Linked DNA regions of Homo sapiens: all the other regions are linked to region 7. Evidence: promoter capture Hi-C in 16 types of primary human blood cells and fetal thymus (Javierre and others, 2016). All regions are on one chromosome and are shown on one strand. The core of a region is centred on a gene start or on the middle of the fragment in contact, and the rest is flanking DNA. Distances in the headings are between cores, read along the strand shown.

Region 1 (3,702 bases), core at 484-2,983, 9.1 Mb before region 7:
CGATGTTCCCAAACTTCAGCTTTTTTGTTGGTAAAAAATGGAGAATAATATCATCTACCTATAGAGTTATTGCAAGGATTATCATAATTTACGTGAAATCACTGTAAACAGTAAAGCATCATAGAAATGTTGGGTAATATTGGTGGTATCCTGGTGGTATGAGTAAACAATAGACTAGAGAAACATGTACCTCAAATAAGGGACTTACTTTTTTCACTAAATAAACATCACTTTCCAAAACAAATACGCATCAGGAGGACAGCTCGAGATAAACTCTGAACTAGGATTCAGGCATCTGGATGAATGCATCTTCTTCAGCCAGTTCCACCATTAACTCTAAGTATCAACACAGGCGAAATAATTTTCCTTTTCATCTCAAATGTCTTCATCTAAAAAATCCAACTACTGGACCAGATGTTCCATAAGTATTATTACAGCCTTTATCAGCCTACCAAATGACTAAGTATTCAAAAGAGTCGATTAACATTATATTCAAAACTTAGAGCACTGTTTGGTCTACCAGCAAAACAGAACTTAAGGGCAGACGATAAAAAAAATATTTTTAATTAAAAATAGAATTATATACAATTCTCGAGAAGCAAAGGATGAGTTAAACTACCTATAATAGTTCTCCCTCTAAATGACTAGTGATGAACAAGGTGCATTAACAAAAGGGCGGGGCTCCTTCCCACAGCTTTTTGGGAACCGCCCACTTCCCAAAGAGGTGTAACTGCTACCTCCTTGTCTTCATCTGCCAAGAAACTTGAAAGATTAAGGTTTATATTGTCTGAGAGAGGATTTTATTTTTCTTTTTACTTGGGTGGGGTTGGCAGTAGTCATCTGGCAAACATATCCTATAAACACCATTATCCACAACGCCAGGTCTCCCCACAAAGTCTTAAAGATCTAAGTTTTTAGAGTAATACCAATTTTAAAAAATAAGTTCAGACTATTAACTCAAAATTAGATTACTGTGTTAACAGTAATCAGTGCTGCCAACTGCCAAGTTTTCGCTTCTCCGAATTATTCACCCTCCCGCGTCTCCGCAGAGGCTACGATTTGCCCTCTCCTGCACCGCGCCAGGTCCCGAGAGAGAGTCCGCAGGGGCTCCCAGGAGAGGGAAGGCCGGGCAACCCAGGCCTCGGCGCTGCCACCCCTCGCTCCTCACCGATGACGATGCGCAGGTGCTTGAGGCGAGTCAGTGCGTCCTTCTTGGTGTCTAGCACCTTCTGGGTGGACTTCTTCACGTCCCCGTGCGGCTTCTTGGAGAACATCCTGTCGCTGCCACTGCCACTGCCACTGCCACAGCCGGCTCCCAGCCGGGTCCCGGCGGCAGAAAGTGGAGGGAGTGGACGGGGAGGAGACTAGCCAGAGAGGCTCATTAGCTCCCCAGCCTTGCGGGCCAGGGCAGAGCCGACTCCTTCCCGATCCAGGCCAGGGCCGCCACCTCCACCCGCCTCGCGCCGCGGCTCCAAGGCACCTTCGGCCCCAGCTCCAATATGGCGGATCCCTCTCCCGGCCCTGCACGGAGCGAGGCAGACCCGGGCTGGCCGCCTGCCGCCGCCGCTCGTCTCCAGCGGCCGCCGCTCGCCGCCACAGGCCGGGGCCCCGGACCCAGAGCCACGAAGGTGGAGCTCTCGGCGGCAGGAGCACAACTCTCTCCCTGAGGCCCCCTTAAGGTTGAAGCTTCTTTAGCAGCTTACACCCTGCAGAGGCCGAAACGGAGACGAGTGTGGTAGTGATGGGGTTTCACGACTCTGCCGTCGGTGGCGAACGGTGTCCGTGGCAACCGCCTTCTGACGTCAAGAGTTCTTGACGTCATGCCAGCATGAGATCACCCGTGGCACTCCCCGCCTTGGTTTCCTGTGTAAGCAGCCAAAGGAGAATCTCAAGAAAGGCAAGGAAGGTAGTTACTGCGTGCTCCATTGTAAGCCAAATGATAGTAATAAGCAAAGAGAAGTAATCTTTATTAAATATGTCCATGATTTATCTTTGAAAATGTGCATAAGTTGTTGTGGCCACCAGATCCTCTAGCAGAAAGATAAACGAAGTTACAGTTGGGCAATTTATTCTGTCCTAAATCTATTACTAATAATATTTCCTGCACTATGTATGTGATTTCTTTCATATTTTTTCTATTTGCAATATCCCTGTTTTTTGCTGCAAACAACTTGACAACAGAAAGGCTTAAGCAGAGGTATCTAGGTTTTTTAAATAAAAGTAATCTTGCTTTCCTTTTCTATTGTGCTTTTAAAAATCTTTTCCCCATCTGCACCCCACATAAAGATGAATATATTGTCAGTTTTTCCTCTGCAAAGAAGAATTCAAGGTTCTTATTACATTGATGGAGTCATCTGAAGAATCTGCAATAGCTGAAAAAAATCCGTGAAATTCTGAATGACATAAATTGAAATTTTTATTGGAACCCTTTTTTTTTTTTTCCTTTTTCCTTTTCTTTCCAGACAGGGTCTCTGTGTCCCAGGCAGAAGTGCAGTGGTGTGATCTCAGCTCACTGAAGCCTCGAACTCCCAGGCTCAGGTGATGCTCCCACCTCAGCCTACCGAGTAGCTGGGACCACAGGTGCGCGCCACCACATCCAGCTAATTTTTGTGTTTTTTGTAGAGACGGGGTTTCGCCATTTTGCCCAAACTGGTCTAAAACTCCTAGACTCAAGTGATCCGCCCGCCTCAGCCTACCAAACTGCTGGGATTACAGGCGTGAGGCCACTGCGCCTGGCCAGGAACATTTCCTCCACAAAATAATTTGATAAAGAGTGAGTTTGCTTGTTTGAACTGTTTCCTTCTATGTTCTCACCCATAGCAATAGACTTGTCCAATGAAATATGTGATTAACATAGAAAAATAACAAAATCAGCAAAGAAGAGAGATGTAAGACATTTGCCAAAATTATGTTAAAATATAGTGCTTTGCTTAATGGTAGTTTGTTTCAACAACAATCCTATATTTTTTAAAGTACAAAAAATTTATTCAGTTTCTACATGTAGGGTTTGTTTGTATCATCAAACTTACAAGCCATACATGTTTTGAGGAAGCTTATAACATAATAGAAAAATAAGGGGATTGTTCAAGAGATTTTAGTTCTAGTTCCTCTCAGCATCAGTTTTCTTATTAATAAAATCAAAATAAGGTCTGTCCCTCACAGTTTCGTGAAATTTAGGCAATAATACAATGTTTTCAAGCATGATCTTTAGAATTACATAGACCTAAATTAGACATTCTGTTTTTCACTTGCAAGGACTTACTTGCTCTCGGGCCCTTGGCATGTAGTTCAGTCTCAGCCTGATTTTCCTCATTTGTAAACTACATCAGTGATTGTGATAATTAGGTGAGAAAAGTATTGAAAGTTACATCTATAATGACACATCTCATAACATTCCTTTCCTTCATAGAATTTAAATACAGTAATTTGTGTAACTGTTTACAGATTCTCTCTTTCATGAGACTGTAAACTCCCTGAGGACAGAGACTGTATAGATTGTCTAAAGTTGTATCCCAGTCTTCTTGCAAAGTGCTCTTTGCAAGATAGGCTCAATAAATCTGTGTCGAATAGAAGAACGAATGTCACTGTCCCTTCCTTTCTCTTGCGCAAGTACTCAGTAAATGTTTGGCAAATGAGTGACATAATTTTAGAGAATAAAAATGTAACATATCGTTAAAAATAATTATATGGCTGGTATACCTG
Region 2 (3,230 bases), core at 25-2,524, 6.8 Mb before region 7:
TCAGTGGTTTTCTTAAAGTTGTAGTGTCTAACTATGAAATTCTCCAAAGACACTGAAAATTGTAGAAGATAACAATAACATTCATCATCAGTAGTAAGCAGATGGTAACATTTTGTTATACCTAATTCAGATCTCTTTTTAAAAAATAGAAACAAATATTCCTGATACGACAAACCACCCTTCTTCCAACTCCCAATTCTTTCGCCTATTTTTTTCAGGAGAAGTTATCTCAACTTTGAAATGCATGCAAGTTAAAAAATACCCCTCCTACAAACGTATTTATTCAATAATGCTATATGGTTTTGTTTCACATATTTTAAAATTCACATAAATGGAATCATATGAGTGCCAGCTTGCAATTTGCCTTTTCACTCATTATTGATTTTTGAGAACTATCCATGTTGGTAAATGCAGATGTAGCTTATTTATTTTAATTGCTGTATAGTATTCCATTGTATGAATGACATTTGAGAGATGGTAAAGTTATTTCCAGGTTCTCGTTACTTTAAATAGTGCTTCAGTGAACATCCTTGCATGTGTATCCTTGTGTACACATCCCTTGTGCTTCTCCAAGTTAAAGAACATGAGCCCAGACGTGGAATTTCTTACTCAGAGACTATTCACATTTTAGATTTTACTGGATTTTGTTCTATTACTCTTCATAATGGTTGTACAAATTTACAGTCACACCAGCAATAGCTAATTGGTTAAGAGTTTGTGCTCTCAGATTTATTAATTTGTGGCAAATTTGATGAAATGATATCTCATCATAGTTTATGGTTTTTGTGTCTTCTTTAGGAAATCCCTACCTTTGTCATGGGCATAAAATGTTACATGTTTTCTTGTAAAAATGTCATATTACTGATTTTTCTTCTTTAACTCATTTGCATTTTTTCAATGGACATAAAATAATATCTTTTTGTCTTTTTCCATATGGAGAGCCAATTTTCTAGAAATAGTTATTGAATAGTCCACTCACAACTCTTGGCCAGTTCTGGTCACATGGTCCTACCCAAACATGAGGGGAGTGCCCAGAAGTGGCTCCCCACTGAACATATTGGTGAACAGCAATAGTATTAAATAATTACCTACAAGGGATATGATGGTTTTAAAATATGTTCACAGATTCTTTGACACTCTTCTTTTCAAAAGATGGAGTCTAATTTCTCTTCTCTTGTGTGTAAGCTGGACCTAGTAACATGTATTCTAGTGCCAGAAGTGAGGGTGTATGATTTCCAAGATAAAGTTAGAAAAGGTACTGTGGCTTCTGTCTTACTTTCTTTTGGATCACCTGCTCTGGGGAAAGCCAGGTGTTATGTTAGAGGCTACTTGGGCAGCCTTATGGCAAAACACATGTGGCAAGGAACTGAGGCTTCTTTGTAAAAGGCAGCAGTAATTTGTCAATTATGCAAATAGCCACCATGAAAGCAGCTCCTCCCACTCTAGTCAAGCCTGGAGATGACTGCAGCCTTGGCCACTGGGATCTTCACTGCAAACTGAGGACAAGTCAAGTCCTGAGCCAGAGTCCTTAGCCACTCAGCTAAGGTGTTCCCAAACTCTCAACCCACTGAAATTCTGTGAGATGATAAGTGTTTATTTTTGTTCTAAGCCAATCAATTTTGGAGTGATTTGTTTAATGGTAATAAAGGATTAATCCATTGAGTTTCACTAAATTTGAAGGCAATGTTTATTTCAATATGATTTAAAATATAGGTTATGTGGCATAAATCACATCTAATTTGGTAGTCCTAGGAGATTATTAACCTCAAAGAAACGATTATTAATTAACCAGAGCAGGTTTATAAACTGATGGACAACCAGAGGTCTGGAAAGACATTTATATCTATTGAGGTGCTGTGGACAGGAAAAAAAAAAAAAAAAAAAAAAACAGAAACAAAAACCAAAACCTCAAACCAGTCATTACTAATAGGAACCACAATAAAAAGTTGTGTTTTGAATTTGAAAGCTCCAAATTGCCGTGACTCATTTGCTATTCGTCTGCTTCTTACATGGACAACTCCATAGAACCATGCATCCATGGAATAGGGATTGAGTAGGGATTTAATTAATTATTTATTTTTATTTAATGTCACATGATATTAGAGAATGAAACAAAGGTCCGTGTAGTCTCTAGCATAAAAATATCATCTGGTTTCCATACTTCATAAAGTTTTGGGAAGGTCAAAGTAAATAATGTGAGAAAAGGCTTTGGGAGCACAAAAGAACTGTGTTAATGTATCACCAGAATTATGTGTCAGTCAGGAAAAGCTAGGTTTTGCTGTGGTAATGGAAACTCCAAAATCGTAGGGGCTTACAACTTGTGAGCTTTAGTTTTTGTTTATGTTAGACCACTCCAAGTTGGCCATGGCTCTGTCATGTCATCTTCACTCTGAGACCCAGAAGGCAGAGTAGCCTGTAGCCAGAGGAGTGACACTTGTCATACCAAAGAGAAAGAGTCATGAAGGACTTCCTGAAAGGGCAGACTTCATGATTTGCTAGAAAGACTCAGAGCACATTACTGTGTAGTGATGATTTATTACAGCAAAATGATACAAAGTAGAATAAGCAAAGGAAAAGGTACATGGGACAAAGTTTTTTGGAGGAAAACAGGTACAAGATTCCGAGTCCTTATCCAGTGCAGTAACACAGGATGTGCTTCATTCCTCCAGTGCCAAATCGTAACAATGTGTGAAATGTCATCTACTGGGGAAGTTCACAAGACAGACTCAATGCCTAGAGTTTTTACTGAGGGATGATCACAATAGGCATCCTCTGTCCTGCATGTACCCAAATTCTGGACTCCCAGAAAGGGTTCATGGGTTCAGCATAAGCCTTATTCTTTGCACAAACAGTTTAGGTGCTGTGAGCCATCCTTATCAGGAAATGTGAGACCCTTCCTGAAATTCAAGCTCCCCAATTCCAGCTGAGGGCCAATCTTGCACACAGGTCTTTCTAAGCCAAGCAGACTCAGACCTTTTATGCTAATTCTTTCTGCAAAAACCCATATCACTCCTGTTCACATTTTCTTGCACAGAGGAGGTCACATGGCCAAAACTGACATCAAAGCAGTGAGAAAGTATAATCTTCCCACAGGAAGTGGCAGCCGATATTTTGAACTATAATACGATCTACTATAGAAACAACATGAAAAAAAGAGAGAAGAAACTGATATCTCCTACACCTATGTATATGCATACTTTATGCATATTTTCATTGTCTTGGCTCACATT
Region 3 (3,276 bases), core at 519-3,018, 9.1 Mb before region 7:
GGCCGGGCAGGGGGCTGACCCCCAACCTCCCTCCCAGAAGGGGCGGCTGGCCGGGCGGGGCGCTGACCCCCCCACCTCCCTCCCGGAAGGGGCGGCTGGCCGGGCGGGGCGCTGACCCCCCCACCTCCCTCCCGTCCGGGAGGCTGGCCTGGCGGGGGCTGACCCCCACCTCCCTCCCGGACGGGGTGGCTGCCGGGCGGAGACGCTCTTCACTTCCCAGACGGGGTGGCTGCCGGACGGAGGGGCTCCTCACTTCTCAGACGGGGCGGCTGCCGGGCGGAGGGGCTCCTCACTTCTCAGACGGGGCGGTTGCCGGGCAGAGGGTCTCCTCACTTCTCAGACGGGGTGGCCGGGCAGAGACGCTCCTCACCTCCCAGACGGGGTCGCGGCTGGGCAGAGGCGCTCCTCACATCCCAGACGGGGCGGCGGGGCAGAGGTGCTCCCCACATCCCAGACGATGGGCTGCCAGGCAGAGACGCTCCTCACTTCCTAGATGGGATGGCGGCCGGGCAGAGACGCTCCTCACTTTCCAGACTGGGCAGCCAGGTAGAGGGGCTCCTCACATCCCAGACGATGGGCGGCCAGGCAGAGACGCTCCTCACTTCCCAGACGGGGTGGCGGCCGGGCAGAGGCTGCAATCTCGGCTCTTTGGGAGGCCAAGGCAGGCGGCTGGGAGGTGGTTGTAGCGAGCCGAGATCACGCCACTGCACTCCAGCCTGGGCACCATTGAGCACTGAGTGAACGAGACTCCGTCTGCAATCCCGGCACCTCGGGAGGTCGGGGCTGGCGGATCATTCGCGGTTAGGAGCTGGAGACCAGCCCGGCCAACACAGCGAAACCGTCTCCACCAAAAAAATACGAAAACCAGTCAGGCGTGGCGGCACGCGCCTGCAATCGCAGGCACTCGGCAGGCTGAGGCAGGAGAATCAGGCAGGGAGGTTGCAGTGAGCCGAGATGGCAGCAGTACAGTCCAGCTTCGGCTCGGCATCAGTGGGAGACCGTGGAAAGAGAGGGAGAGGGAGACCGTGGAGAGGGCGAGGGCGAGGGCGAGGGCGAGGGAGAGGGAGAGGGAGCTATGTACCCTTTTTTTGAGAAAGTACATCTGGTTAAGTATGTATTTTTCATTGAAAACTAAAGTTAAATCAGGACTGATGGCATTTTCCGACTGCATTTGGTAAAAAATAAATGCCAAAAATATTAGATTGAAAATGCCAAGATAAAACTTCCTTACCTTCTGTATTGTAAAAGTTTCAAGAATAATTTAAAGATTTTTGCACAACACAGAAAGTGCAAGTTATCGTCTATAGTTAATAATTAAATAAAACAGTTTATTAATGGTAGGTAATAAAGGTGCTTAGTAAAACAGATGGTTCTCCAGTTCCCCAGGCTCAATGAGCAGGCAAAGATCCTTTTAGGCAAAAGACATTTTCACATCTAACAGTAACATCTCTGATGGTCAGGCAGGTCAAACAATCACTTGGCGGGAAATAGATAAATACAGACTAAATTCGCACAATCTGTTTCTGTTTAGTTTATAAACTGCGATCCAGAGTGTCAGCTTTCGTGCCTTGTGGGACTTGAAGTCCAGAAGGAAGAAGTGATCAGGGCTGCCGAGGGATGGAAGCGTGCAGCCCCTGCAGGTCTGAGACCTACGAACTACAACTCCCGGCAAGCATCGGAAGGCCGCGTCGTAATTGCGGGCAACCAATCGTACCAGAGCAGGGCAAGCCCCCGCCCTCTGGCTCGGTGGAAGGCCTCCGCCAATGGCAGAGCTCCCATCGCAGAGCCTGCGGGTTAGGTTGTGAGGCCCGGGCCGGGGGCGGGGAGGAGCCAAGGGGGCGAGCAAGCTCGGTGGCTGGGTGGGTTGGGGCGTTCCGCGCGCCCTTCATTGAAGCGGCGGTGGCCGGGCTGGGCGCCGGTAGTGGAAAGCGACGGCGCGGCTGGAAAATGCCAGTCCATTCCCGAGGGGATAAGAAGGAGACCAACCATCACGATGAGATGGAGGTGGACTACGCCGAAAATGAGGGGAGCAGCTCCGAGGACGAGGACACTGAGAGCTCGTCGGTCTCCGAGGATGGAGATAGCTCAGGTGCGCGACCCACTGCTGGGACCCTGAGTCCCCGCGCCCAGCGCGCGACAGGCCGCTCTCCGCACGCCAGGCGGCTGCGTCCTGCTGGGAAAGCGGGGCGGGGACAGAGGGAAGGGGCGGAGACTGGCTCTGGGCCCTGGGCTGCACCCTGACCGGTCGCTGGGCGCTGTCTGGCTCCTGATGGGTCCCGGCGGCGGGGCGGGGCGGGCCTGGGCTTGTCCAGCTCCCAAACGCGGCGTGGTCCTGCCCCCGGTGGTGCTCTGGAGCGACCAGCCCAGGCGGACAACTTCCCGCAGCAGACAAACTGGAAATGCCTCCTCTCCCCAGCCCACCGACCTCTTTCCCTATTTTCACCTTTGCAACCCTCACTTCTCAGCGCAAGTGAGTTGCCGGGACAGAGGGTCGGCTTAGTAATTAACCTCAGTTTGCAAGTCAACTTGCCGGTCAGCACTTTTACATCAGTGTCTTTTCGGGGGCTAACTTGAGAGCGGTCCCGTTCAGTAGCTCCCTGAAGTTTGCAAGACTGAGAGGAAGGGACCAACATTCGGGCTCATTTTGGATCTTCATATGCTTATAAATTGGCTGAGTTTTGGCAGCGTTGAAAATTCTCCAAGTCTTTTCTTCCCTTCAGTTTTTTCTAACTTTGGGCTGTTTTAAATTATTTTGGGTGGGGGAGGAGGGCAGATTAACACTACAAATAAATTTTGCAAACTTTTAGGAATGGTTATTCTAAAGTGAAATGGAATTTGTGATTACCGGGATTATTTTCTTTCGATTCAAATGATGGAGATGAGACTGACTTCTTTGTCTTGGCCTGATTTTGGTCATGTAAAGGAAGCATTGATGATAGGTTGATGACAGCCTAGTATCACCCAGATGCCCTCTTTTCATGTTTCCCTTGCAAAGCAAATCTCCATGGAAGGATATAATTTCAATCAGTAAATCAGCCATCCAAAAATATTTATGAGTGACTTCTTTGTGCAGCACTGGACAGTACTCAATATGAGGGATAAATAGTTATTATCTGGGCTCACTTAAAAAGCTATCATAAGTCACCACTTGATTAAATTGCCAAATGAATGCTTAACTAAATGTTGCTGTAGGAATTCAGAGGCAGAGGAAATCGTTTCAATATTGGGTGGTCACAAAGCCTAGCTGAAGAAGGTGGGATTACCTTAATTATCTTG
Region 4 (3,266 bases), core at 257-2,756, 8.6 Mb before region 7:
ATTTCAAAAATCAGAAATTCTTATTCCTTAACAGCACTTTATATTTTTTTCATAAAGACCATCTAACCACAAGTATGAAGGACGGCAAGATGTTTTTGTTTTAAAATAAAATTTAGATGGGAAAGTTATTTCTATTCCATTTTGCTAATAATCTAGACTTCTGTCAGTGACTCAGATGTCATGTGGTGGTTACTTACCTTTTACGTGACTTTTAAATCCGGGGTAAGGGGTAAAAATCGCATCAGTTCTTGCACAACTATTTTCTAAGGAGAATTTAGATAAATATAAGTTTAAATATATTCTTCCCTTCAAATGTATGAGATTTTAATAAACTTTCAATAATTCATATTAACATTTTACTCATAATAATTTTAATAAATAATAGTAACAATAAATTACTATCACACATAGGATAGAATTTAGTGACCTTCTTTACCTGTCAAAATTTATCATAATATCTAATATTCTTACCTAATGTTCAGATTTATATACAGAAAAGCCATCAACATTAAGTGGCACAAATTGATACAATTTTGAAAACCAATGTCACTATTTGGGCCACTGGAGAAAATAATCTACCATAGAGTATTTAAATTCTACTTCATCGTAGAAATAAAACTCATCATTTTTACTAGAATTCTTTTAATTCAGCATTTTTTATTTTAATGACCAAATTAGTGAACATCCAACAAAAAGAATTATTTAACATTTTTATTTCAGAACTCCACACAAAGATGACCTCAAAACCTCAAGTACACATACATTTCCACTCTACCTAGATTTCCAGTGCTCATTTTAAAAACCCTTCATCACAAAAGTCATCTACTTCTTCTTATCCCACCACTTTTCAAAAAAGTTTCATTTTAGTAAAGGTCTATTGTGAAAATTTGTCCCTATTTTTTTCCAAGCTGAAAAGTAGTTTCTTTCAAATTAAGTATCAATGCATAAATTACAAAAGGGGAAAATTGGAAAGATGTTAACATATAATACAACTAATTAACATAATTGTTATATATTAACATACGATACTACATAGTAATAATATATACTTATGTTTGAAATAATGTTTAAAGGCCACACATTGGCAGTAAATCTCCTGTAAAATTCCCCTGAATATTTTGTAAAAAATGGCTGGTAAATGAGATTCTTTAAAAAAAATTATTTTTTCCCCCCTATGAAATTTGATTTTTAAAAATTCCACTGCTTATAGTTAGGTTAAATTTGTAGGTATTAAAAGGAACACACTAACATATTAAAATACATTTGTATTTTTTTCAGTTGAACTTTCCTTAGTAGTTCTGTTGATAAATCAAATAGTATGCATAAAATTCCAAATCCACTTAGCTTTTATATCTAGAGACTAAATAGACATCTTTCCTCCTTTTTTTTTTTTTTGGAGGCACCTCAAAATATGCTTAAAGGGCCATCCTTTCTCCATTCTCTTCCTACCATTTCATGGGGCTAAGGGTTAAAAAAAGAAGCTATCATCCATTCCAGAACTATATTCCAAACATATAGATTAACTGACCATCAGTGAGAAATTCAGCATGGTGTGAGTGTATGACTGCTAGTCACTCTCCACAGCAATTCTTGCTAGCACTGTTTTGAGCCAGCAAAGAATTGAATGGGCCAAGGAATCCTGCTGAGCATTTCAATTCTCGTCAATTTCTATCCCCTGGTGGTTTATAATAATAGAGTTAGCAGGGAGAACAGAGGAATAACATTAGTGACACATGTGCTTGCTCTCTCAACAAACCCTTTCTCATAGTCGCTTGTAGTTGGTTGTAGTACCTGAGATTTTGCCATTGTTGCACCTGTTCTGAAAAGCTAACAGGAAAATATACCAAATTTAGAGATGCACATGTGTAATGTTAATAGTAGCACACAGCTAAATTCAGGACCCAATACCAGCCTATATTATTTCATTAAGAGAATCAGTGTACCAATGTGATATGAGTCATTTCTAGGTTCATCTGACAATTCTATGTTCATAATAATTAGCCATGAGATATTAGAGGCAACAAGAAACATGTTCATTCCAATTATGAACTCTTCTCCATAATTTTTCCTAAGAACTACTTGTTCTGATTATTACTATGGTGCCTGAGTATAATCTATGGCACTGCATTGCAATATTTTGTATTCTGCAGCATACTTGCAGATTTGTAAATGTACTATAGCATCAAGTAGAGAGGTAAAGGTGAATCAGATGAAAAACAGCAAATGTATGCACTATGGCAGAAAGGAAAAAAGCAAGACACCATGGTCTTCATGATAAATTGGTTGTATCGTGACACAGGACATTTCAAACAGCTCAGGAGTAGTGAGAAAACTGCTCCCTCTGGAGGAATATTAACTTTACTAAGTTCACTTACGTATTAACATCATGATTTCACAGTACATGTATAGGTTTGAAATTCATAGAGCTCAGTTCCTTTTACTAGTGAGATAGATCAACCTTCTCACTCGTACCTCACCTTCATTTCCTAAAGGAACTTTAAAATAATCTTCACCTGTGATAAACACTTTTTAATGTTAGCATTTACTTTGTGTAACCAAAATGAAAACCAGTTTGCAATATAGTCTATTATTAAGCAGAAGGAAACTCTACTGTCTTAATTACTAACTAAATCCATGAAATAAATTGAATTGTGTTCTAAAAGCTATTCATTTAAAAAATAAATAAAAGATTAGAGCAACTATAAAAATTGTGCTTAAAACCCTATGAAAATTAATTTCCAGGTAGTTACCTTGATTACAATCAATAACATTGCAAAATTCCCTGACGTTGTTTTCATTGATTTCAGCTTGCTTTCTTTCAATAAATGCAGATATTCGTCTGTCAATCTACAAACAACAAGTTTTAACAGTGTAAACATAAGATTTTTTAAAATAATACCCTCTCGCCCCCGCCAAAAAACCTTCTTACTTCTGCTTTTCCAGCCTTTATCTGAACTACTTCTGGATCAAAATGGATCTGTGTCTTTTTCACATCTCTTAAATCACTTTCTTTGTGCTTTTCTTCCTCTTGTAGGTCGCCAATGGAAAATTTGTCATTTACTTCATTTTTGTTCCCCATTTCTGTTCTTCCTATCTCTTCAACAGCAGTTGTATTCTCCTCTTTAATCGGAGACTGAAGTTTTGCTAAAAAAGGCTGAGAACAACACAATTCCATCTGCTGAGGTTCAATCTGACCAAAATTAATTACACACTTAATATATTTACATAAATTTCTGCTAAGTAAATGAAATACTTAATATCAGTTA
Region 5 (3,233 bases), core at 606-3,105, 6.8 Mb before region 7:
ACGGTGTGGCTCTGTGTCTCACCCAAATCTCTTCTCAAATTGTAATCCCCATGTGTTGAGGGAGGGATCTGGTGGGAAGTGATTGGATCATGGAGGTGGCTTCCCCCATGCAGTTTTTATGATAGTAAATGAGTTCTCTCATGAGATCTGATGGTTTAAAAGTGTTTGGCAGTTCCCCTACCCTCTCTCTTGCTGCCATGTAAGACATGCCTTGCTTCACCTTCTGCCATGATTGTAAGTTTCCTGAGACCTTTCCAGCCATGTGGAACTGTGAGTCAATTAAATCTCTCTTTTTTTAGAAAAAATAAATTACCCAGTCTCAGGTAGTTCTTTAGAGCAGTGTGAAAACAGACTAATACAATATGACTGTAATTTAAAGCATATTTATCCCATTGATGAGAAATTTATTATAGAGATTTGGCAATTGACAGGTAGAAGATAATTGAACAATTATGAATTCATTTAAGAAAAATCCTATGGTTTATTGTATTTGTTTGGATGGTAAACTCTCATTGGTTCCTCATGTGTTGTCAACCTTAAACAAGTATTTAGCTGTCAGGCACCATGTGAGACACTTGGGATATGATAGTGTTACAGCATCGTCCCTTATCTCAAGGACTCTCTAGTGTTAAGGGAGAGACAAACAGAAAGGGAATTTTTGTGGAGTGTGATGTTAAACATAGAGTGTGTTAAACATAGAGTACTATGGGAACACAGAAGAGACATCTAGACCTGGTCTGGAGATAGAGAGAGCTTCTGGAGGAAATGACAATTTGAGCTAGCTGAGACCTGAAGGTTGGGTAGGGGTTAAGAGGGCTGAGAATATCATTGCAGCAGAGGGAAGTGTATGTGCAAATATCTGAAGTTTGAGTAGAACATTATTTTTTTCTTTCTTTTCAGAACTTGGAAGTAGCTATGCATGGCTGGAGTTTAGAGTAAGAAAAACAGAGGGTCAAGAGCTGGAGAAACGAGCAGGGCCTTATATGTTGTGCTTGTTTTCGATTTCATCCTGAGTATATAGAGAATAATTTGAAGTGTCTTAAGCAAAAAACAGTAATGTGTCCTATTATAGAAAGAACATTCTAGATGTAATGTGAGTGAACTGGAAGACCACATGAATAAATGCAGAGATAGCAGTTACGATGTTGACAAGTACTGTATTTCACTAATTTTAAGACATACAATTTTCCCCCCACATTTTATTATCTCTAAATCTGGATTCATCTTACCGTTAGTGGCATGTCATAAATTAACAGAAAGCTTTTATTTTCTTTCTCAGTGATACAAAGCATAATAATGTAGTTTACAAACAATGGCAACTTAGATTCAAGTAAACAAAGTCAGAAATGATTGCAGCCTTCACTAAAATGGCAGTTGAAGAGAAGTGAATGTGAAATTAACATGTATTTTGGAGGTCAAATCATAAGAATCTGATGACTGCATTTGGGAACATGAGGTTGAGGAAAAAGTTGATGACTCCTATTTTTATTTTATTTTATGTTTTTTCATTTGTGCAGTTGGGATGTGGTGGTTCCATTCATTGAGGTAATGAACTCAATTGGGTTTGTGAGGATGAGGTAGGAAGGTGTGGGACAAGATAGATAAACAGTAAAGTTCTACGCGTAATGGTTATGAGGTTCTAGTGACTATCCAAGTTAGAACATTCCATCAGTGATTGCATCTACACTTTTGTTTATGAAAGGAATCTGAAGAGAAGATGTGGGCTCTTCTGAAAGATTTTTTACCAGCAAACCCATAAAGTAACCACAGTTGCCTTGGGCTACAAGGGAAGCAGTTTCCATCCAAAGGCTCTTCTATCTTATGTTTCATTCTTGTCCTAAGAATCCCTGAAGTGTGAACTCTGATATTGAAGTCTACATCCTCTTTATGCCTGGTAAATGTCCCTTAAGAAAAGTCCAGTCTTCTCTTTCCTGCAACCCACATGTCTTCTAGATGGTGCATATTTGAAGAGTAATCTCACTATCTTATGGAAAAGCTGAATGTATACTCATTCTGTCTGGGTTTCCAGATTTAAGAGAAATTAGATGGAAAAGGCTTACCTTTGTGACTTTGAAGTCAAGGATTGAGGTATAAAATTGTCTGCAGGAATAGTGGAAAGATAAGGAAAAGAGTAGAATATTCTGATCATGACCTTGCCACCTCTCTCTCCATAAGTTTCTCCTGGACCACCGGTGTCAGGCACCTCCTGGTTAGGTGTCTGCCAAGAACCTTGCCAGGCACTGCTCCTCCTTTCTGAGTGGTGGTGCTCAGAACCTCTGCACATGCTGCCAGGGTATGTGTTATGCCTGGTGGGTGATGCAGAGGAGACTCTGGACCTGTCTCTTTGCTTTCCAGGGCTTTATAGTTTTGGAGTGAGGATTGGGAAATATGATACAGCCATGAGAGGCTTCCCCTATTTCATTTAGACTCATAGTATTTACATTTTATCAGAAGCTTTCTTATACATTACCTTATTTGATCCTCATGAGTACTTGATGAACTAGATTAGTTGGGCACTGTTATACCCATTGTATCTCCACTGATGACCTTGTGTTTCAGAAGAGAAGAAGTCCAAAGCTAGACATGGATCTGGCAATATTAGAATTTAGTTCTCGTGAATTCCAGTTCAATCCTTTTCTCACTAGACCAGTGAAAAGGAAAAAGATTTCTAAAGGTTTTTTAAGATACCTTAGCTGATATTGAATGGAATTCTCTGAGACAAGCCTAATATCTAAGGGTCTTCTAGAAGCTGAGGCTATTTCAGAAAAGCCCAATGTCCCTTAAAAGTAGTGGTGGTACTGAGGATCTTTGCCACTATTTAATTCAGACCAATAGAGCAGGGAGGTCTCTAAGAGGGGTCTTTTAGGAGTCATGCATATAGAATTTGTTTGCTCCCAGAGGCCAGCAAATACCCTGTGGTTTGGCCCTTTTATTTTGATGTTGAACTCAGCACAGTACATGTTTTGCCTGCCCTTTCCTAGGCTTAGAAAAATATCCAGGTGAAAGAAGGAGAGTATTATTCATTACCCTAGGCAATTTGTGTGGAATGGTTTGGTTCCCAAAAACTGTCACTCCAAAGTGCAAAGAGTTCAGATCTGGAGTTTTGCAGTTGAGAGTGTGTTGAGCACCTTATGACAGGCAGTTCTGTAAAGTGAGGTTACAGAGTTCAGCAGTGGAATGTATTAGAAAGGGAAACACTCTCTGGTGTGTAGAAACATGCCCTTCAGCAAATC
Region 6 (3,330 bases), core at 698-3,197, 5.9 Mb before region 7:
AACATTCTTAATAGATACAATTTTTTATATTTTTATAATAATCTGGAATTTTTAAATCTAGATTTTTACAATTAAAAAAAATTTACAATAATCCAGAATACATTAACAAAAATGGGTGAATGAGGAACAATGAGCAGCAAGAAGGTGGAAGGTAATGGAAAAACATGACTTTACTCTTTAACAACTGGAGAAATGTAAGTTAAAAAGTGCTTTTGGACATGAGGACACATCAAGTTTGACCTTTGAACATTTGAACAGAAAGTACTGGACAAGCCAATAACCAGGAAAATATTTCAAGTTCTGGCCAGAGAGTCTAACCCTGGTTTTTACTTCCCCTCCATCTAACACTGGCCTGTAAACATCTGTCCCCCACCTCCTGAGTGTTCAATTCCGTTGAAGTGCTTTCAAATATCCTCCAAGTTATACCCAAAAACTATGAATCTGAATGTTCCCAAATGTTTCTTTCCAGCTGCACCAGAGTTGTGCTGAGTTCCACCTAGGCAGGTCCCAGTGGTCTGCAGTACTCTTGATTTCTTCAATCAGATAGTAGGCATCTCCAGACCCAGGAATGACTCAGCTTCACTTTGAATTTGAGATTTTATACTCTGCATCACTCCTAAATCATTTAAGAAAGCTGAAATAGCTTTTCCGTTTTCCAAACTCCCCAGACCAAATATAGTGCTGATTATACCCAACAGGTATTAAATAGGGGGGTGATTGCAGTTAACAAAAAAAAAAAAAAAAAAGTGCTTTTGAAAACTAAGTACTGTAACAAAATTTAAATGTGTGTTTATCTCCAAAGAAGGACAAATAAGATCCATACTTCAAAACAATAGAAATGCAAAGAACTATCAAAACAAAACTTGAAACAAGATGATAAGTAAGACCTAATGCATTAAAGTCAAAGGGCTGCGGATTGAGTTCAAACTGCTGTTTTTAAGAGGCTGTTATAATATAAAATGCCATAAATGGGATAAAAGTAAAAGAAAAGGAAAAATATATGAAAGACAAAGGCAAACAAAAGAGAAACAGAAAAGAAAATACTAATTTCAAATTAAAATGAATTTAAGGCCAAAAGCTTTACATAGGGCAAATACTATCATTTTATATTAAGGTTTCTTTGTATCACAGTGACAGTCCAATCCTTACATGCTGACTAGAATTGTATTGAAACACATACAGATTTCTTAAAAATGCAAGGATATGTCTTCAGTAACTCAGTCATAATAGGAGATTTTGACAGTCTCCACCTTGACAAATCCAATAAGAAAAAACTAAACACGACACAATGTTTTAAAAAATACATACTATTTAATGAATATATATCAAATTATGTATCCCACAAGTCAAGCACCACCTTCTAAAAACCTTCTAAGTAAAAGAAAAAAATCAAAACTACTGTTACAATCAATTTAGAAATAATCAAAATGAGAACACTGCAGTACATATAAAAGGATATGATATTACAAATGAGGCACTCAGGGGAAAAAAATTGTAAGCACTTTAAATATTAAGCAATTTTAAGTGTCAAAATAATGAACTGAGAACTTATAAGAAAACAGTAAGGCCACGTGCAATGGTGCATGCCTATAGTCCTAGCTACTCAGGAGGATGACGTGAGCCCAGGAGTTTGAAGGAGTTTGAAGCTGTAGGGCTCCATGACTGTGCCTGTGAATAGTCATGGCACTCCAGGCTGGGAAACTCTGCAAGATCTGTTTCTAAAAACAAACAAATAAAAGCAATAAAACCAGTCAAGGGTAAGCACGAGGAAGGAATTAATGAATAGGAAAAGAAGAAAGTAATAAATAAGAAAATAGAAAAATATTAAAACTGATGTATTACCCCCAAAGATGGTTCTTTGAAAGAACTGATAAAAGAGACAAACTTCTGTTGAATCTAATTAGGAAGCAGATAGAAAGTACTCATAGAAGACTACTGGATTCACATCAGGAATCCAGATATGAGAACTTTTTTAGATAAAAGATTAAAACTTAAATAAATCAGGATCAAATAATGAAATACCGTTTCACACCAGTTAGCCTAGCAAAAATTATAAAACTCTAACAATAACAAAGGCTGTGCATATGTAGTTGAATAGCTAGGCTAGACCACAGCAAACTGCTTTGGTTTTGAGGATAAGCAAGCCTAGAGACTTCAAGTAGTTCAAAGTTGCTTTTATTTTAGTCTACTATGCAAACAGCAAATAGGCCGTGTGGAGGATGTCTATCTGAGATGCAGGTGGGTGGATGTGGCTCCCTGTTACTTCCCTTGCATTTCATGGTGGCACACTGGAACTTCAGTCCATCAGGTCAGAGGACCATAGAATAGAGGGGTCCCTGATTCTTTATATCCCTAAACACATTAAAACCCAGAAACAACTTTTTTCACTCAAAAAGCCAAAGTGCCCATGCCTAGTGTTCAAACTCCATGACTTGACATCCTTGACATGGCAGCTCTGGGGCAATGCCCGTTGTCTGCACTGCAGGATCCTGGAGTCTTCCATTTGTGTCCACTTGAGATTTTTAATGCAATGGCTTGGCCATAATATTTCACAAGATAACCCACTACCCATCCATTTTTTAATTCATTTATTCAACGAATATTTGGCAGCCTTTTATGTGCCAAGCCACGTAATAAGTTCTGGGAATGCAAAAACTTTGGACAAAAATAACTGCCCTCAGTATGGGCAGCACATTCTAACAGGAAAGACCAATACTGTAAAAAAAACAAACAAACAAACAAACAAAACAAACAAAGAAACCGTGTAATATTGACTGTGTACAGATAGCCATAAGAGCAAGTCATGGGAATTCAGAGAAGCTTTCACTGGGAAGGTACCTTTAAGAATGAGCTTTCTAGCCAAAGAGAGGTGACTCCAAGCAGAGCAGCCTTCTCCTCCAGATCCTATCACTTCCACTGGCCTCCTCGGAACATCATCCCTCTTGTCTAAATCCTATCACTTCCACAGGCCTCCTCAGAACATCATCTCTCGTGTCTAAATGACAGGTATTTCCCAGACACCTCCTTGTTGATTGCATTCAGCCTGACACTCTTCAGGCTTCTCCATTCTGTACATTTCCCTGCTTTATTCTGCCATGTGATCCTCATTGCCTTCAAGAGAAAATCTAAACTTCTTAACCTTATTGATATGGTTTGGATGTTGTCCCGTCTAAATCTCATGTTGAATTGTAATCCCCAATGTTGGAGGTGGGGCCTAAAGGGAGGTGATTCGGTCACAAGAGGGGATCCCTCATGGCTTGGTGCTATCTTTGTGACAGTCGTGAGTTCTCATGAGATCTGGTTATTTAAAAGTGTGTGGCACTTCCTCCT
Region 7 (3,685 bases), core at 1,130-3,629:
AACTGCTGGGATTACAGGCGTGAGCTACTGCGCCCAAGCTGCGCAACTAATTTTTGACAAAAGCACAAAAGCAACCCAGTGGAAAAAGTACAGGCTTTTCAAAAAAAAAATTGCTGCGATGACTGGGTATCCATACATCAAATATGAACTTGGATACATGCCTCAAACTATATAAGAAAGTTAACTACAATGCATCATACATCTAAATGTACAGCTTGAACACATAAAACTTTTATAAGAAAACATAGGAAAATTTCTTTGTGAGCTTGGGGTAGGCAAAAATTTCTTAGAAACAACACTAGAAATGTAATCCATAAAATAATAAATAAATTAAACTTTATTAAAAGTTAAAACTTCTCTTCAAAATACACTGCTAAGAGAATGAGGGCCAGGTGTGGTGGCTCACGCCTGTAATCCCAGCACTTTGGGAGGCCGAGGTGGGCAGATCACCTGAGGCCAGGAGTTTGAGACCAGCCTGGCCAACATGGTGAAACTCTGCCTCTACTAAAAATACAAAAATTAGCTAGGCATGGTGGTGCACGTCTATAATCCCAGCTACTCGGAAAGCTGAGATACCAGAAACTCTTGATCCTGGGAGGCGGAAGTTGCAATAAGCCGAGATCATTCACTGCACTCCAGCCTGGGTAACAGATCAGGATTCTGAAAAAAAAAAAAAAAAAAAAAAAAAAAAAAGGCAGAGTTGGGGGGCGGTAGGTAAGCAGAAACTTAAGTGTGATGGGCATACTCATTTGATCACAGTGATGGTTTAAGGGGTTATACATATGTCAAAACTGATAAAAATTATACACTTTAAGTATGCTCTATATATTCTATGCCAATTATACTTCAGTAAATATATCTAAAAAAACCCTACAACTCAGATGTCAGATTTTGAAGACGGTGGAAAAGATGCAGAATGGAAATTTCAGTTAAAGGCCTCAGTGATGTTTGTGAGTTATCCAAGTATTCAAGGAATCCATGCTTCCTCCATCTAGCTGAGACTCGGCAGAGTTTAATGAGCAATCTCAATACTATTCTCCAGAAATGGTGTCATCCACCATACTATGGCTGTTTTCAGGAAGAGAATGACCTAATCAGTATAAAATGAACTCCATGTCTTGTGAGAGATTTATAATTAAACACATAATCCACATTTACAAACATTTTTAAAGGGCTTTTCTACCTGTAGGAGAGGATTAATATTGAGAGTGAACTTTTTGCAAGTTTTCCAACACACTAGTTTATCTCTAAGAGCCTCAGTTTCCTCATCTATAAAATACCATAAGAAATAAGAAAAAACAGGAAACTAAAAAGAGCAGGCTTTGCCAGAGCTATTAATTATTCTTTTTTGGGCAGAGCCAAAACTCAAGAAATGGAAGTCTCTCTTCCATTTCTAGACTTTTTTAGAGAGATCCATGAGGAAGTTCCCCTCCATAGCTTTGGCCGACCATCACACCGGTCAAGAAGGCATCCAGCCTCTCCCAGGCTCAGCCTGTGACGGAAAACCACACTGATTTACTAGGATAGCCTTGAGCTCTCTCATTAGCCCTCACGTGTTCTGAACGTTAGAGCTAACTTTCCAGACCCTCATTATTTGTTGAAAGGCTGGATGGGGAAAATCTCAACCAGATCTCCATGCCTACTTGCAAGGAGAGGTAGTTTTTGCAGGGTGGCCTGTGTTCTCCAGATGCAGAGCCATACAGGGCCTTGCTTCTTTACGGGAGATACAAAAACTCGGCCCTAATAAACAGAAATAGTGGTTGAGCCCACAAACTAGCATTAAGTTGTCCTAACTGTAATTTCCAGCTCCGTCACTTGCTGTGTGGGACCTTATTATCTCCAAAACCCAATTTTTTCAACTTCACAATGGAATTAAAACAATCTAATTTTTCAAAATGGGGTTAACTTCCACTGTAAGTTACAGTATATTGGCCAATAATTAACTTGAACACTAAAGCTGGCATTTAACAGATCAATTCAACTGTTTTCTAAGTAAATACTTAAACGCTTAAAAAACCGTAATTTACTGAGAAAACAAAGCTTTCTTTCTAGGTTAAGAATTTGAGAAAACAAGACCCAGAAGCAAACTAAAATCAAGTCCTAAAATGGTACAAACCTCAAAAAGCCAATCAGGTTTGCCAATAAAGCTCCGCCTCCGTGCAAACTCTGCCCACTTCCGGCTTCCCCACCCACCTTCTACCAGTGGAACCCCGCCCCTCTCTGCGAGGTCCCGCCCCCCACACCTGATCCTGGTTCCCATTGGGCGAATCTGGATGCTGTATACACAGCCGACACACGCACATTAGGCTGGGGCGTCTTCGCGCCTGCGCAGCTGCGCTGTCAGGCGGCTGAAAACGGGGGGGTTGGGGGGAGGGGGGCGGAGGTCGTGCCGAATCTTCCTCCGTAATAAGAAGCGACGTGTCCCACTGTCCTGGCTCCGTGGGTCCAGTGAGATTGGGCCTGGGCGCTGGAGCTGCTGTGGCTCCCGCCGCGGCGGCTGCCATGGAGGCCATGCCAGAGCCCAGAACTCACGCCGGGGGAGGCCGAGACAGCCGGCGGTACTCATAGATGAGGCAGCGGCGGCGGCGGCGGCGGCGGCAGCCCGGGCTCTCCATGAGCAGGCGGCGGCGGCGACGGGTGCGGCGGCACCGGCAGTTTTCGGTCCCCAGGGAGGTACGAGGAGTTTGCTTCCTGGTGGACGGAGACTGGCCGGTGTGGGAACGCCTTCCGCGGCCCGGCCCTCCAGCCTATTTGTCCGCAGTTCTGAGCACTCGGCGGGGCACTGCCCGGGCAGAGGCGGGGGCGCCCAGCCGACTCGCGGGCCCCTAACTCGGGGACCCGCCCGCCTCGGTGCCAGGCCTCCCGGGCGCGGCTGCCCAGGGCCAGGGTGGGCGTGGCCGGAACGTGGGGGCTCCCCGGGGGCGCACGCCTAGCGTCCGCCTTGTCCCTGTCCCGAAGTCCCGCGCTGCTGGGAGCGGTAGCGCGTGGCTGTACAGGCGTATTTTAGGCGCTGATTTGAGAGGGGACTTTTAGAATCCCTGAGTCCTTAGGGAGTCTGGCGTTCAATGCCTTGGGCATGTGGTGGGGTCCTCACGGCTAGCTTGGGGTACCAATTTCCTCCCTTGGAAGTCACCACGAAAGAAAGATGTTTTGTCAAAGAAATAGAGGTCAGGAGAGTTTTCCAGGTTTATTCAAATTGGAGGGCCCGTAGAGCCTGGAGAATAAAGCCAGCGGAATACATCCTCCAGTCCTTCTAATTACAGTTCCTAGCTAAACAGCTAAGACAATTTTAAGTAAAGCTCTTCACAGCTATCTTTCCATCATTTTTCCCCACCCCTCATTTTTATTGCAATTTACTTTGGAACAAATCACCAAATTCATGATGAAACTAGTATCCTCTAGTTCTTCCAAACCTTCCCTCCTCCCGTTTTTTCCAGAGAAAGACTAAAGTTTCATGCCACATATGTCATTATAGTTTAATTCTCTTAGAGTGTAAGGGTAGTTACACTTCATTTGGTCATGTCTGAAGATAATGTGAAGAAAATATCCTAGAGATTTATGCTTCCTTCCCAATGCACTATTTTAGGAATCCGAACTCAGGCTCTTTAAGCAATCTTAAACCTTGCTACAAAGTTCTTTAAAATTCAACGGAAATAAATCAAACCATAAAGTTATTTTCGTTTTT

What was found. Contacts are between HindIII fragments. The CHiCAGO score rates a contact against its expected background, and 5 or more counts as called.
Region 1: the fragment with the promoter of RALGAPA1 here is called in contact with the fragment with the promoter of DORIP1 in region 7 in 9 of 17 cell types (naive CD4 T cells, naive B cells, total B cells and 6 more); the score reaches 29.5 in naive CD4 T cells.
Region 2: a contact is called between a fragment that was not itself captured here and the fragment with the promoter of DORIP1 in region 7, in 3 of 17 cell types (naive CD8 T cells, activated CD4 T cells and naive CD4 T cells). The highest score is 6.8, in naive CD8 T cells.
Region 3: the fragment with the promoter of BRMS1L here is called in contact with the fragment with the promoter of DORIP1 in region 7 in 2 of 17 cell types (total B cells and total CD4 T cells); the score reaches 7.2 in total B cells.
Region 4: a fragment that was not itself captured here is called in contact with the fragment with the promoter of DORIP1 in region 7 in 2 of 17 cell types (non-activated CD4 T cells and naive B cells); the score reaches 7.2 in non-activated CD4 T cells.
Region 5: a fragment that was not itself captured here is called in contact with the fragment with the promoter of DORIP1 in region 7 in 1 of 17 cell types (naive CD4 T cells); the score reaches 6.1 in naive CD4 T cells.
Region 6: a contact is called between a fragment that was not itself captured here and the fragment with the promoter of DORIP1 in region 7, in 4 of 17 cell types (activated CD4 T cells, non-activated CD4 T cells, total CD4 T cells and 1 more). The highest score is 9.9, in activated CD4 T cells.

Annotation. Positions count from the first base shown.
Region 1 is chr14:35,807,562-35,811,263 of GRCh38, forward strand. RALGAPA1 (Ral GTPase activating protein catalytic subunit alpha 1) reads right to left here and starts at 1,734. Exons shown (of 42, transcript NM_001346249.2): 1 at 1,169-1,734. The coding sequence starts at 1,274. RefSeq lists enhancers at 1,384-1,944, 1,781-1,880 and a silencer at 1,461-1,700. The HindIII fragment of the contact is 1,366 bases long and covers 1,685-3,050 here.
Region 2 is chr14:38,071,880-38,075,109 of GRCh38, forward strand. No RefSeq gene overlaps it. Among named protein-coding and RNA genes, the nearest start is that of SSTR1, 130 kb to the right of the region's middle. The HindIII fragment of the contact is 8,133 bases long and covers 1-3,230 here.
Region 3 is chr14:35,824,570-35,827,845 of GRCh38, forward strand. It overlaps BRMS1L (BRMS1 like transcriptional repressor), which reads left to right and starts at 1,769. Exons shown (of 10, transcript NM_032352.4): 1 at 1,769-2,089. The coding sequence starts at 1,948. RefSeq lists silencers at 1,810-1,909, 2,160-2,329. The HindIII fragment of the contact is 11,609 bases long and covers 1-3,276 here.
Region 4 is chr14:36,311,762-36,315,027 of GRCh38, forward strand. MBIP (MAP3K12 binding inhibitory protein 1) reads right to left here. Exons shown (of 9, transcript NM_016586.3): 3 at 2,930-3,154; 4 at 2,751-2,847; 5 at 198-263. Among named protein-coding and RNA genes, the nearest start is that of MBIP, 7.2 kb to the right of the region's middle. The HindIII fragment of the contact is 7,085 bases long and covers 1-3,266 here.
Region 5 is chr14:38,050,719-38,053,951 of GRCh38, forward strand. No RefSeq gene overlaps it. Among named protein-coding and RNA genes, the nearest start is that of LINC00517, 150 kb to the left of the region's middle. The HindIII fragment of the contact is 1,194 bases long and covers 1,259-2,452 here.
Region 6 is chr14:39,008,915-39,012,244 of GRCh38, forward strand. No RefSeq gene overlaps it. Among named protein-coding and RNA genes, the nearest start is that of SEC23A-AS1, 93 kb to the right of the region's middle. The HindIII fragment of the contact is 1,742 bases long and covers 1,077-2,818 here.
Region 7 is chr14:44,894,896-44,898,580 of GRCh38, forward strand. It overlaps DORIP1 (dopamine receptor interacting protein 1), which reads left to right and starts at 2,380. Exons shown (of 5, transcript NM_001017923.2): 1 at 2,380-2,673. RefSeq lists enhancers at 2,025-2,074, 2,699-3,198 and silencers at 2,565-2,694, 2,715-3,034. The HindIII fragment of the contact is 3,873 bases long and covers 2,039-3,685 here.